Linked DNA regions of Homo sapiens: regions 1 and 3 are each linked to region 2. Evidence: promoter capture Hi-C in 16 types of primary human blood cells and fetal thymus (Javierre and others, 2016). All regions are on one chromosome and are shown on one strand. Each heading gives the region's core, a stretch centred on a gene start or on the middle of the fragment in contact. The rest is flanking DNA. Distances are from core to core; before and after follow the strand shown. Region 1 overlaps LOC124904665 (a long non-coding RNA gene). Region 2 holds the start of ZNF101 (zinc finger protein 101). Region 3 has its middle 62 kb from the start of ZNF93.

Region 1 (3,526 bases), core at 351-2,850, 270 kb after region 2:
AGGGGATCTGAAACTCTTTTATGCAAAGAATAGATTACTAAAAAGTTCTACATAAAAGAGAAATAAAACCTTTAGGGTATATTATGAATTATGTCTTAAAGTTATCCTCAACAAGAAAGACCATATTTCCATAGTTCTCTAACATCACATTCGTATACAACTTCCGCTGTACAGTGTCCAGGCAATGCCACTCCTCCAGAGATAATTCTATGGCCACATCTCTAAATTGCAATGGTCCCTGAAGAACACACACATTTTTACCAAGTGGCCAGGTGTGGAATTTTTAATTTGACTTAAGGTGAAATGAGAGAGTAAAGAGAAGTGGTTCTGACTTATAGCACTGACTAAAATTATCCAATAAAATAATTTTCAAAACAGAAATATTATTCTCTAACTATGATAAAAAAAAAAAAGCACCATAAGATCCAGAACAACAGTTCATATATTTTATTTTTCTAGATAATAAAGTATAAAATTAAGGGCATGAACACGAACATGTACATTTTTGAGTGCTATATTTACATCATACGGAATGAGTTGTGAATATTTTTCAGATGGAAAAGACATTCACTTAGGCATTTCTCAAATTTATTATGTACAATAAGCTGAAGACCTTATGCAGGTTTTTTTTTTTTTCCAAGAAGATCTGGAGTAAGTCTGATTTACGTATTTATTTCCTTTTCTTTTTTATTTGAGACGGAGTTTCATGCTTGTTGCCCAGGCTTCTGTGCAGTGGCATCATCTTGGCTCACGGCAGTGTCCCCCTCCTGGGTTCAAGCAATTCTCCTGCCTCAGCCTCCTGAGTAGTTGAGATTACAGGCATGTGCCTCCACGCCCAGCTATTTTTGTATTTTTAGTAGAGACAGGGTATTCTCCATGTTGGTCAGGCTGGTCTCAAACTCCCAACCTCAGGTGATCTGCCTGCCTTGGCCTCCCAAAATGCTGTGATTACAGGCATGAGCCAGGGCTCCCCGCTGATTTTTTGAATTTCTAACAAGCTTACCAGTAATGCTAACGTTTTTGGCCTAATAAGGATATTTTGTCAAAGATCCAGTAAGTGGTAGAGCCTGTGTTTTCCCAGTTTTTCTAGCCTGTAAACAAAGATAAGAGCCTTCATTTTCTAAAGAAAAATATGTAGAAAAAATAAAAGGAGAACTGCCAGATTAAATGTGATCACTTGTGTAGAGCAGCTGCATAAAGATAATTATGAAGAGAAAAATAGTTATCTCTACAGTGAAAAAAATCAATCAGCTATTTCACCAAGTGAATCATTAACCATTAACTGCACTAGGACAAATTTTTATGATGTGCTACTGCACACAGAAGAACACAGCATCACTGTTGAAATATTCCTCCCCAAAACAGTAAACTAGTCTGAATTTAACCATAAACAACAGTTTATGCAAACTTCAAAATACAGGTAACTCCTATGTTCTGTAATTTTTAGTAGGAATTTTAATTAGGCTTCATTTAGCACCCTAGAGAGCAAGTATCTCCTAATAATTTTTTTCAGAACTTTCTGGGTAATAAATGCCATTCCATTTAAATCAGCATTTTCTTAATCCTCTTCTGCATAGAGCTAATGGAACACACAGCTGGAGCCTCAACATTACATGTTCTCCATCTTTACTAAGGGCCACAGTTTTCCCCAATAGAAACCTTGAGTATCCACATCTTTCCATGTTCAACAGCCACAAAGGGAACATTTTTAATATTGCAGGTCATAAATTCTTGCGGAGCATTCTGCATGGCATATAAGAAGCTATGACGTACAGAATGTAGAGAAGTCTGTGGGACATAGGACAGAAACGTTTTCCAGAGACCCTTGACTATCATAAGAATTTTAAGAAGTAGTTAAACCAAACTCCTTAGGGAGGAAAAACACAAGTAGAGAAGTAAAGGTTTGTGAGTACTAAACGCATGGCAGTCCAGGAGGCAGAGTGGACACAGCTCTTCATCTGACACATGTTTACCTGAAGAAAAGCCATTTTTTTCTTTCTCCTCCTCCTCTGGAATTCCTTCTCAGATGAGATTCTCTGGACAAGTTACACCTGCATATGGAGAATATGCCTTTAAAGGTGTCAGTACCACATTTACCTGCTAGTATGACATCAACTGGCAGAAAAAGAAAAATTCACTTACTGCTGTCTTTTAAACAGAATAGATTCAGGAATAATGAGCTGCTCCATGAAGACAAAAATATAAGCTTCTCCTTTCCTGTCCTCAGGTGCCCTCCCCTGCCAGAGACTCCAGCAATTTCTGCTACAGTAATGGAAATATGCACCACACTGACCTGTCCCTACCAAACCCAAACAGAACAGGCCCTGTGACCACCCTTTAGTGCAAAGGTGGAACTTAACTCTCGAAAATGTATTTTGAAGCCTTCATACTTGATTCTGGCCTCACCTTAGAGTCACATGAGGCCCTTCATTAAAACAACATGGATCCTTCCACCCAGAACAATAAACAGAAGCTGTGGGGAGGGCACAAGTATAAATCACTTGGTAATTTTGGTCCCACATTATGTAAGGTGATTCTGCAGGTTTGAAAAGGGTTTATGAAAGAGTGTTTTAAACAAGTCTCCTGTCAATGCTGATGTTGCTCCCCCTTGGCTCATTATTAGCATTAGAGAAAGCAGGCAGAGCACAGGGTCCCTTACACTTAACACCCTTCTCACAACCAAATACTTGTCGTGCAAATAAGGACAACCCATCTCCATCCTAAAGTTTTATATTCTTTGCTGGCTCTTTAAGTTTATAGAGGAAACAGAAGGCAGCAATGTTTGAATAAGTCTGGGTTTAAAAAACAACATGTACACATGTACTACTGCAATGTTTATTAAGCAAGTACTATGTGCTCAAGAGTATGATACAGAGCACTGTGCTGGGCATAACACATTATGTGATTTAATTCTCATAATACCCTGGGAGCTAGTACTAAGGGTTTAGGAATTTTCAGGATTTAGATAAAGGGCCCAGCATTTTTATTCTTCTGTTTCTCTGTCATCAAATTTTTTAAAAAGTTGTAAGAAATAAAAGCTAAATATAGACAGATAGAAAAGATATAGAAAGGATGAGTTTAATGCAGTTTAGAGAAAATTTTATTCTGTTTATGTTTACTTTTTTGTTACTTGGGGAGCAATTACTGGATCTGCAGGAATAGAAAACAAGTTGCTAAATAGAATGTCTCTGCAAGCACTGGTTTTAATAGAAAACTTAAAAGCTAAGACTCTATAATACATACTTTATTTTTCCCATTCATCTGCTTTTGGGTTTCAGGAAATTGTGAGCACCAGCTCTAGAAAGGCAGCAGGATTCACCAGCCAAAACTCTTGATCTCTACTAATCAGTTCTGAGAGCAAGACTCCAGGGTATGGTCAGACCTAAATAAGGCCTTCAAAAAGAATATATGTAAACAAGTCTGGGGCAGTGTGAGGACCCTATGTAGAATTCTGTTCTCTATGTCACTGGGGTACTACCAGATTTGTTTCTTCTAAATGTCCTAAAAGAAACTTAAATCCAACAGT
Region 2 (3,677 bases), core at 714-3,213:
GGGCCTCCCAGAGTGCTGGGATTACAGGCTGAGCCACCGTGCCCGGCTGCATATTATTAAGATACATGACTTCGTAAAAGGAGAAAGGAAATGTAATAGGACTTAATAATCACATAGTATCAAATAAGATAATCTTCAGTAAAAATAGGAATGACATGTTTCTGTCCCATGATACAGTTCGATATACTTACTTTTTCAGTTTTTTCTCCAATATTAATTCTTTCCCATACAAGGTCCAAGCTTCTGCTCTTGGAGTCTGGGACTGGACCCCTTTCTGGTAGCAATACCTTTATAGAATGTTTACTCCAGGCCGGGCACGGTGGCTCATGCCTGTAATCCCAGCACTTTGGGAGGCCAAGGCGGGCAGATCACGAGTTCAGGAGATCGAGACCATCCTGGCTAACACGGTGAAACCCCGTCTCTACTAAAAATACAAAAAAAAAAAAAAAAAAAAAAAATTGGCCGGGCATGGTGGCACATGCCTGTAGTTCCAGCTACTCGGACTCGGGAGGCTGAGGCAAGAGAATCTCTTGAACCTGGGAGGCAGAGGTTGCAATGAGCTGAGATCGTGCCACTGCACTCCAGCCTGGGCGACAGAGCCAGACTCCGTCTCAAAAAAAAAGAAAAAAAAAGTGGTTTACTCCAGTTTTTCCCTGCATTTAATAATTTTGTTCCCTTTAAGGCATGTTTTTATTTTCTTGGCTGAAAAGGAGTAGCCTGAGAAGAAGTAACGTGTAGGAAGCCTTGGCCATGGGACCAATAGCCTCATAAATTCCTGATCTCTGGAGGACATCAGGGCCTCCTACCTGTTCCATTGTGACCTGGGAGTCTCTCCAGCTCCAAGGTGGAGGGATGGCTTCACTGAACACGGAGTCTGGAATTCCGTGCACACTCATGTGACCGGTGTTCCGGAAAAAGAAGCAGGAGGCGGCTGGGCGCGGTGGCTCACGCCTGTAATCCCAGCACTTTGAGAGGCCGAGGCCGGCGGATCACGAGATCAGGAGTTCGAGACCAGCCTGGCCAACATGGTGAAACCCCATTTCTACTAAAAATACAAAAATTAGCCGGGAGTGGTGGTGGGCGCCTGTAATCGCAGCTACCCGGGAGGCTGAGGCAGGAGAATCGCTTGAAACCGGAAAGCGGAGGTTGCAGTTAGCTGAGATCGTGCCATTGCATTCCAGCCTGGGCAACAAGAGCGAAACTCCGTCTCAAAAAAAAAAAAAAAAAGCAGCAGGAAGGACCCACTGAGTACAGGAAGCCGACAGGGCCTGCTCCGGAAAACCAGGAGCTGTAAGGTCAGCCGAAAGGACGAAGAGACCTGAAGTCAGTCAAGTAAGTTTTATTAACCTGCTGGGCTGCTCCCCCACAGTTAGAGGAGGCAGCCCCGCTTACAGACTACAGCAGGGCTTTATAGGGCGAGGAACTGGGCTGGGGTGTGAGAACTGAGTCGGGGGTGCAGGTGTCCTGACCGCATCCTGGAGATGTTTTTGCCAGCTTTGTTATGCAAGGTGGGCAGGTGTTGTGACCGCATCCTGGAACTGTCTGCCGGTTCAGCTGAAGTCTTTTGAACAAACAGTTACTGGAAGGGTCAGTGGGGAGGAGGTCTACTTCTAGCCCGGGGGGAGTTGTGTGGCGGTCACAAAGGACTGTATTGTAAGACTGATGGGGGAAGGAGGGGAACAGTCTGGTTGGGTTGACCCTAACGGGAGCAAGTTCTGCTTCCATGCAAGTCCAGGTCCAAGGTCCCAGCGAGGGGCTGTGGGTAGCACCTGTCAGTCACACCCCACACAGCGAGCGGATTATTTGAGGATTCCGATCACCTCTCCTGTCGCTCAAGCCCCAGGGGCGGGACCTGGGGCACCAGCCAGTCAGAGGCGCTGTGCGGCAAACTGTCCAATCAGGTGCGCCGGGAGGAGGGGCAACTTCCAAAGCCCGAAGCGGTCTCATTTCCCGCCGGCCCCCCATTCGGGTCCGGGTTTTAGTTCCTCGGGGAGCCCCTGGTGCCCCGGATACGGCTGATTTTGTCGTGTGGGACCTGTTCTGGCTGCTCCAGCCCCAGGAAGGACCCAGGACACCCGGAAGCCGGAAATGGTGAGCGTGCGGAGCCGGGCGTCCGGAGACCTGAGGAGGAGCTGGTCGGAACCGGCAGTGGCTGGACCTGGGCCTCCCCGCGGCGACTGTGGGGGTCTGGGACCCGAGTCCCCCAGGCGCAGCTCGACCCTTGGTCCCCTCGGTCGCCGGGTGGAGCTGGACCAGCCGCCGGGACCCCGGGTGTCCTGTCCCGGCCCCGGAGCCCTCTCAGGGCAGCTCCGCGCCCGCAGCCCCGCGTCTCCCCAGATCGTGCGGGGGCCTCAGGAGGGTCTTAGGGGGAATCCCGCCTCGGGTGTGGGGTTCGTGCGGGAGGAGCCGTGGCCTGTGGGGTCCCCAGTTCCTCCTCCCTTAGGCGGTCCCCGTTTCCTTCGGAGTCTTCCAAAGGTGTGGGAAGCTGGGTTTCAAACCCACGACCCCGTCCCCCAGCTTCGCTCCTCCCAGGGCTGCAGTAAATCCCTAAATTTCCCCGCATTCCCCAACCCTAAGTTCTCCCTCCAGTACATCCACTTCACATTATTATTATTATCATTATTTCTATTATTTTTGAGACGGAGTCTCACTCTGTCGCCCAGGCTGGAGTGCAGTGGCACTGTCTGGGCTCACTGCAGCCTCCGTCTTCCGGGTTCAAGTGATTCTCCTGCCTCAGCCTCCTGAGTAGCTGGAATTACAGGTGCCCGCCACCACGTCCGGCTAACTTGTATTTTCAGTAGAGACAGGTTCACCATGTTGGCCGTGCTGAAGTCCTGATCTCAGGTATCTGCCTGCCTCGGTCTCCCAAAGTGCTGGGATTACAGGCTTGAGCCACTGCGCCTGGCAAGACCCAGTGTTTTAACTGTCATCTTTTCCAAGGAGCCCTAGATGGCACTTCTTAAAAAGTTCATTTTCCGTTTGTGAACATTTCACATGCGAGCAAAGCAGAAAATAACCCCCTGACACTCCGATGTTAAAAAAAAAAAATCACTGTGCCTGCCCTCTTTTTACCTTCCCTAGGCGCGGCCACCTTATCAGACAGTCTTTGGGTGGAGGCTTCTCTTGGGAACTTCACAGGGTATTGGGTCCTCAGCCCACCCTCCTATCTTTCTGGTCCTGGGTTTCAGGACCGTCCAGGGACTTCTTCCAGCTGCCCTCGGAAGAACGGGTGAAAAGTCTGTCCTGGCGTGGTTAATCTTTCCTGGTTGTTTGATGAGCCTCCTAGGGAGGAGTTCTTGTCTTTTGAAAAGAAGTTTCCTTAGGAAATTCCAGAGGGATTCCCTGCTGGCCCTTGGGGGTGGGGTGGGGCCAGAAACAGTAGAAAGAAACTTCTCCCTTCTGAGGCAGCTCAGGGTGGCATGCAGTGGCACAGTCATGGCTTACTACGGCCTCAACCTCTGGGGCCCAAGCAATCCTCCTGCCTCAGTCTTCCAAGAAGCTGGGACCACAGGCATGCGCCACGCCCGGCTAGTTTTTATTTTTTGTAGAGACAAGGTCTCACTATGTTGCCCAGTCTGCTCTGGAAGTCAAAAGCGATTCTCCTGCCCAGGTGGCTCACGCCTGTAATTCCAGCACTTTGGGAGGCTGGGGCGGGAAGATCTCTTGAGCCCAGAAGT
Region 3 (3,968 bases), core at 1,034-3,533, 290 kb after region 2:
CATGCAGCCACTAGAAAACGCTATGACTTTCACTGGGGAAAGAAGGAGAACATGGCTTCTGAACAAGCTAAATGAGTGGGTCAACTGGCCCTGGATCTATGGCCCATACAGGATGGGCCAGGAGAACTGCAAGTAACTGTCCTAGATCAAAATGCTAATTGGAGCCTTAGGCAGAAACAAGGTGGGAAGAGGGTACCTTTCAGGTTTTGGACCCAGAAACTGCCAGAGGCCGGAAAAGCTTATACCCCTTTCAAGAAGCAATTGTTAGCTTCTTATTGGGCTTTGCTGGAAACAGAACACCTCTGCTTCAACCATGATGTCTTTATGAGGCCCGAAACTCCTATTATGACTTGGCTCATGAGTTCCCCCAAAACCCACCAGATAGGGCATGCCCAAGAAGGAGCATCATAAAATGGACGTGGTACATACAAGACCAGGCTAAGCCAAAACCAAAGTGGGTATCACTTTTACATGAGGATGCACAAAACCTGCCAGCTCAGGAAATCATGGAGCAAGTCCTGCAGGTAGGGAAGGAAATCCCCTCACTCCCACCCAGTGGGGCAAATCCTTTGAAGAACTAAGCCCAGAGGATCAGAAACATGCTTGATTTACAGACGGATCCGCCAAATACATTGGTGGGACCTGATGCTGGAAGGCTGTGGCTTATAATCCTGTTAAAAACATAAAAATTTCTGATGAAGGAAGGGGTGGGAGCAGCGAGTTAGCTGAACTAGTAGCCATCCTTCAAGCTATTCAGGAGGAAGGCAGAGGGATTTCTCACTTGTATACCAAATCTTGGTCAGTACCAAATGGTCTTTCTACCTGGAAGCCCCAATGACAATGAAACAAATGGTTAATTCAGAATAAAGAGGTTTGGGGACAACAATACTTGGAAGATATCTCAATCCATTGCACACTGCCATTATCACTGTTTCACTGTTATCACTGTTTCAACAAGGTTTCACCATGTTGGCCAGGATGGTCTCGATCTCCTGATCTCGTGATCCGCCCACCTCAGCCTCCCAAAGTGCTGGGATTACAGGCGTCAGCCACCATGTGGGGGAAAGAAAGAGAGATCAGACTGTTACTGTGTCTATGTAGAAAAAGGAAGACATAAGAAACTCCATTTTGATCTGTACTAAGAAAAATTCTTCTGTCTTAAGATACTGTTAATCTGTAACCCCAGCCCCAACCCTGTGCCCGCAGAAACATGTGCTGTATTGACTCAAGATTTAATGTATTTAGGGCTGTACAGGATGTGCTTTGTTAAAAATGTCTTTGCAGACAGTATGCTTGGTAAAAGTCATCGCCATTCTCCAGTCTCCCGTACCCAGGGACACAATGCACTGCGGAAAGCCGCAGGGACCTCATGCCCAAGAAAGCCTGGGTATCGTCCAAGGTTTCCCCCCACTGAGACAGCCTGAGATATGGCCTCATGGGAAGGGAAAGACCTGACCATCCCCCAGCCCGACACCCATAAAGGGTCTGTGCTGAGGAGGATTAGTGAAAGAGGAAGGCCTCTTTGCAGTTGAGATAAGAGGAAGGTATCTGTCTCCTGCTCATCGCTGGGAATGGAATGTCTCGGTGTAAAACCTGATCATACATTCTATTTACTGAGATAGGAGAAAATCACCTTATGGCTGGAGGTGAGACATGCTGGCGACAATACTGCTCTTTACGACACTGAGATGTTTGTGTAAAGTCAAACATAAATCTGTCCTACGTGCACATCAAGGCACAGCACCTTTCCTTAAACTTATTTATGACACAAAGTCCTTTGCTCACATGTTTTCCTGCTGACCCTCTCCCCACCATTACCCTGTAGTCGTACCACATCCCCCTCACTGAGATGAAAGAGATAGTGATCAATAAATACTGAGGGAACTTAGAGACCAGTGCCGGGTGCGGGTCCTCCGTATGCTGAGCGCCGGTCCCCTGGGTCCACCTTTCTTCCTCTATACTTTGTCTCTGTGTCTTATTTCTTTTCTCAGTCTCTCATCTCCACCTTGTGAGAAACACCCACAGGTGTGGAGGGGCAGGCCCCCTTCACCACCATGTGCAGCCCTGTTTTCCATGTTGATGCCCATGCATCTCTGCTTTCTCTTGACAGGCTATTTAATCAGCAGGAAGAAAAACAGGCCACAATTTCCACCATAACAGTAAACTTGAATGTGGATGAATAGATTACAATGTGTTCAAGCCTTGCAAAGAGAGGCATTATAGTGTATGGTGGTGTAATTGATAGTGATTACCAGGGAGAGTTAAAGGTCATTTTATACAATAACACTCCAGATTCTTTTGCTATAAAACTAGATGCTGGTTACTCAATTTTTAGTGGTACCCTTGTCAACAATTAACTCCTGAGGAAATCTCTGCCCCAACAGAGTCTACATACAGAACTGGGGGATTCAGATCCCCTGGTACAGGTAGCTTAAATCCTGGAGCCAAAATATGCATACAGCGTCCATCACATCTTGACCCTAAGGCTGGTGACCTTGTAGCTATGAAAGCGGGAAATGAAGGCATAGTACAATTTCCTAAAGATGAAAAATAAATCATGTTCCACTCCATTTTTGTTATTACAGGGAATAACCTATCTACTAATGGTCAGCACCTGTGTCTTTGTGTCTGAAGCCAAGAATAAATTCATCACCTGGGTAGCCACCGCTGCAACTGAAGCCATCCACAGTCAATGTTGGCTATATGTTGAGTTGCCGGAGGCTGCCTGGGATGGGCTATCTTGAAGAATCGTCCCTGACAACATTTCTGAATGGCTATATTGTTACCAGTAGGGCCACAACAACAACAACACTTGCAATCCAACCTGGGCTTCCTTTCACCACACTAAGCAATCTATCTTTGCCAGGTCAGACAAAAGATGAACTCCACCCTCACCTTGCATCAAAAGTCTTGATATCTTGCCCAATAATCCTGGAACAATATACACTGAAAACCTGCTGTGCTGGTGGCTGGATTCCATACAGGCTTCGCTTTTTCTGGAGGCCTTAAATGGCTCCTCTAATGTTTCTTTGGGGTTTCTTCAGACATTTGTCAACACATACTCCAAATCAACAACACTGCCCCCCAATGAACCACAATCTCTTTCCTATTTTAATAACACATTAGTACACTATGATTACAGTAGCTCCATTGCTGTCCCCTGGGGGGCCCTCTGGGTATGCAGATCCTATGGGTTGCAATACTGTCCCTGCATTGGATGGGAAGATGCACTTGAGGGTGGACATTAATTCCATTCACTATCCGGGATAATATTCCCTTCCCCAGTAATCTAGATGCTTACAAACACCACTGGTTACAAATGTGCTGGTCTCCCTGGTGGTGGTACCCTATCACAGTATTCTCCCCTGCCACCAGTACATTCCTCCTTCACCAACACATTAAAATATTTACCTTACATGTAGAAAAAGCTCTTAATGATAGTAGCACTGAACTTGTGTTGTTATCAGATGAATTTGCTCAGCTGCGTACTATTGTGTTGCAAAATCAAATGGCATTAAAAATGCTTACCGCAGCCCAAGGAGGGGTTTGCACGTTACTGCAAACTGAATGTTGTGTGTATATCTCTGGTAATTCTCACAATATGACTCTCCTTGGAAAGCCATGCTGAGTGTGGTTTTTATTAATTGTGCTTTTAATTCTCCTGTGTTACCCTGTATCTGTAATCTATATCAATTATGCCTTTTCCATGTATCTGAGAGGGTATTTTCCTACAATTGAGTATCCAATTGAGGCCAAATGTGGAGGGAAAGTTAAATATTAAATTTGAACTAAATTGAATGTGGACACAAATAATGGTCACCAAGTCCTGGCAGAGGTTGTGTGAGCCCCTTGAGGCGTTCATCCAGTGCTGTTTCAGAAAAAAATCTTTATTTCAATCTATTCCTATACGTTAGAAATTGAAAAACAATAGGCAATCCCAAAAACAAGTTGGCCTTTTTGTGTTCCTT

What was found. The method cuts DNA at HindIII sites, captures the fragments that hold promoters and counts their contacts. A CHiCAGO score of 5 or more calls a contact.
Region 1: a contact is called between a fragment that was not itself captured here and the fragment with the promoter of ZNF101 in region 2, in 1 of 17 cell types (non-activated CD4 T cells). The highest score is 5.9, in non-activated CD4 T cells.
Region 3: a contact is called between a fragment that was not itself captured here and the fragment with the promoter of ZNF101 in region 2, in 4 of 17 cell types (M2 macrophages, total CD4 T cells, total B cells and 1 more). The highest score is 6.4, in M2 macrophages.

The regions. Positions count from the first base shown.
Region 1 is chr19:19,937,593-19,941,118 of GRCh38, forward strand. It overlaps LOC124904665 (a long non-coding RNA gene), which reads right to left. Exons shown (of 3, transcript XR_007067170.1): 1 at 2,143-3,526; 2 at 1,974-2,070; 3 at 926-1,091. Among named protein-coding and RNA genes, the nearest start is that of ZNF93, 38 kb to the left of the region's middle. The HindIII fragment of the contact is 1,208 bases long and covers 997-2,204 here.
Region 2 is chr19:19,666,876-19,670,552 of GRCh38, forward strand. It overlaps ZNF101 (zinc finger protein 101), which reads left to right and starts at 1,964. Exons shown (of 4, transcript NM_033204.4): 1 at 1,964-2,091. The coding sequence starts at 2,089. RefSeq lists enhancers at 1,653-2,219, 2,220-2,785 and a silencer at 2,174-2,373. The HindIII fragment of the contact is 10,038 bases long and covers 239-3,677 here.
Region 3 is chr19:19,960,534-19,964,501 of GRCh38, forward strand. It overlaps the pseudogene BNIP3P12. Among named protein-coding and RNA genes, the nearest start is that of ZNF93, 62 kb to the left of the region's middle. The HindIII fragment of the contact is 4,095 bases long and covers 237-3,968 here.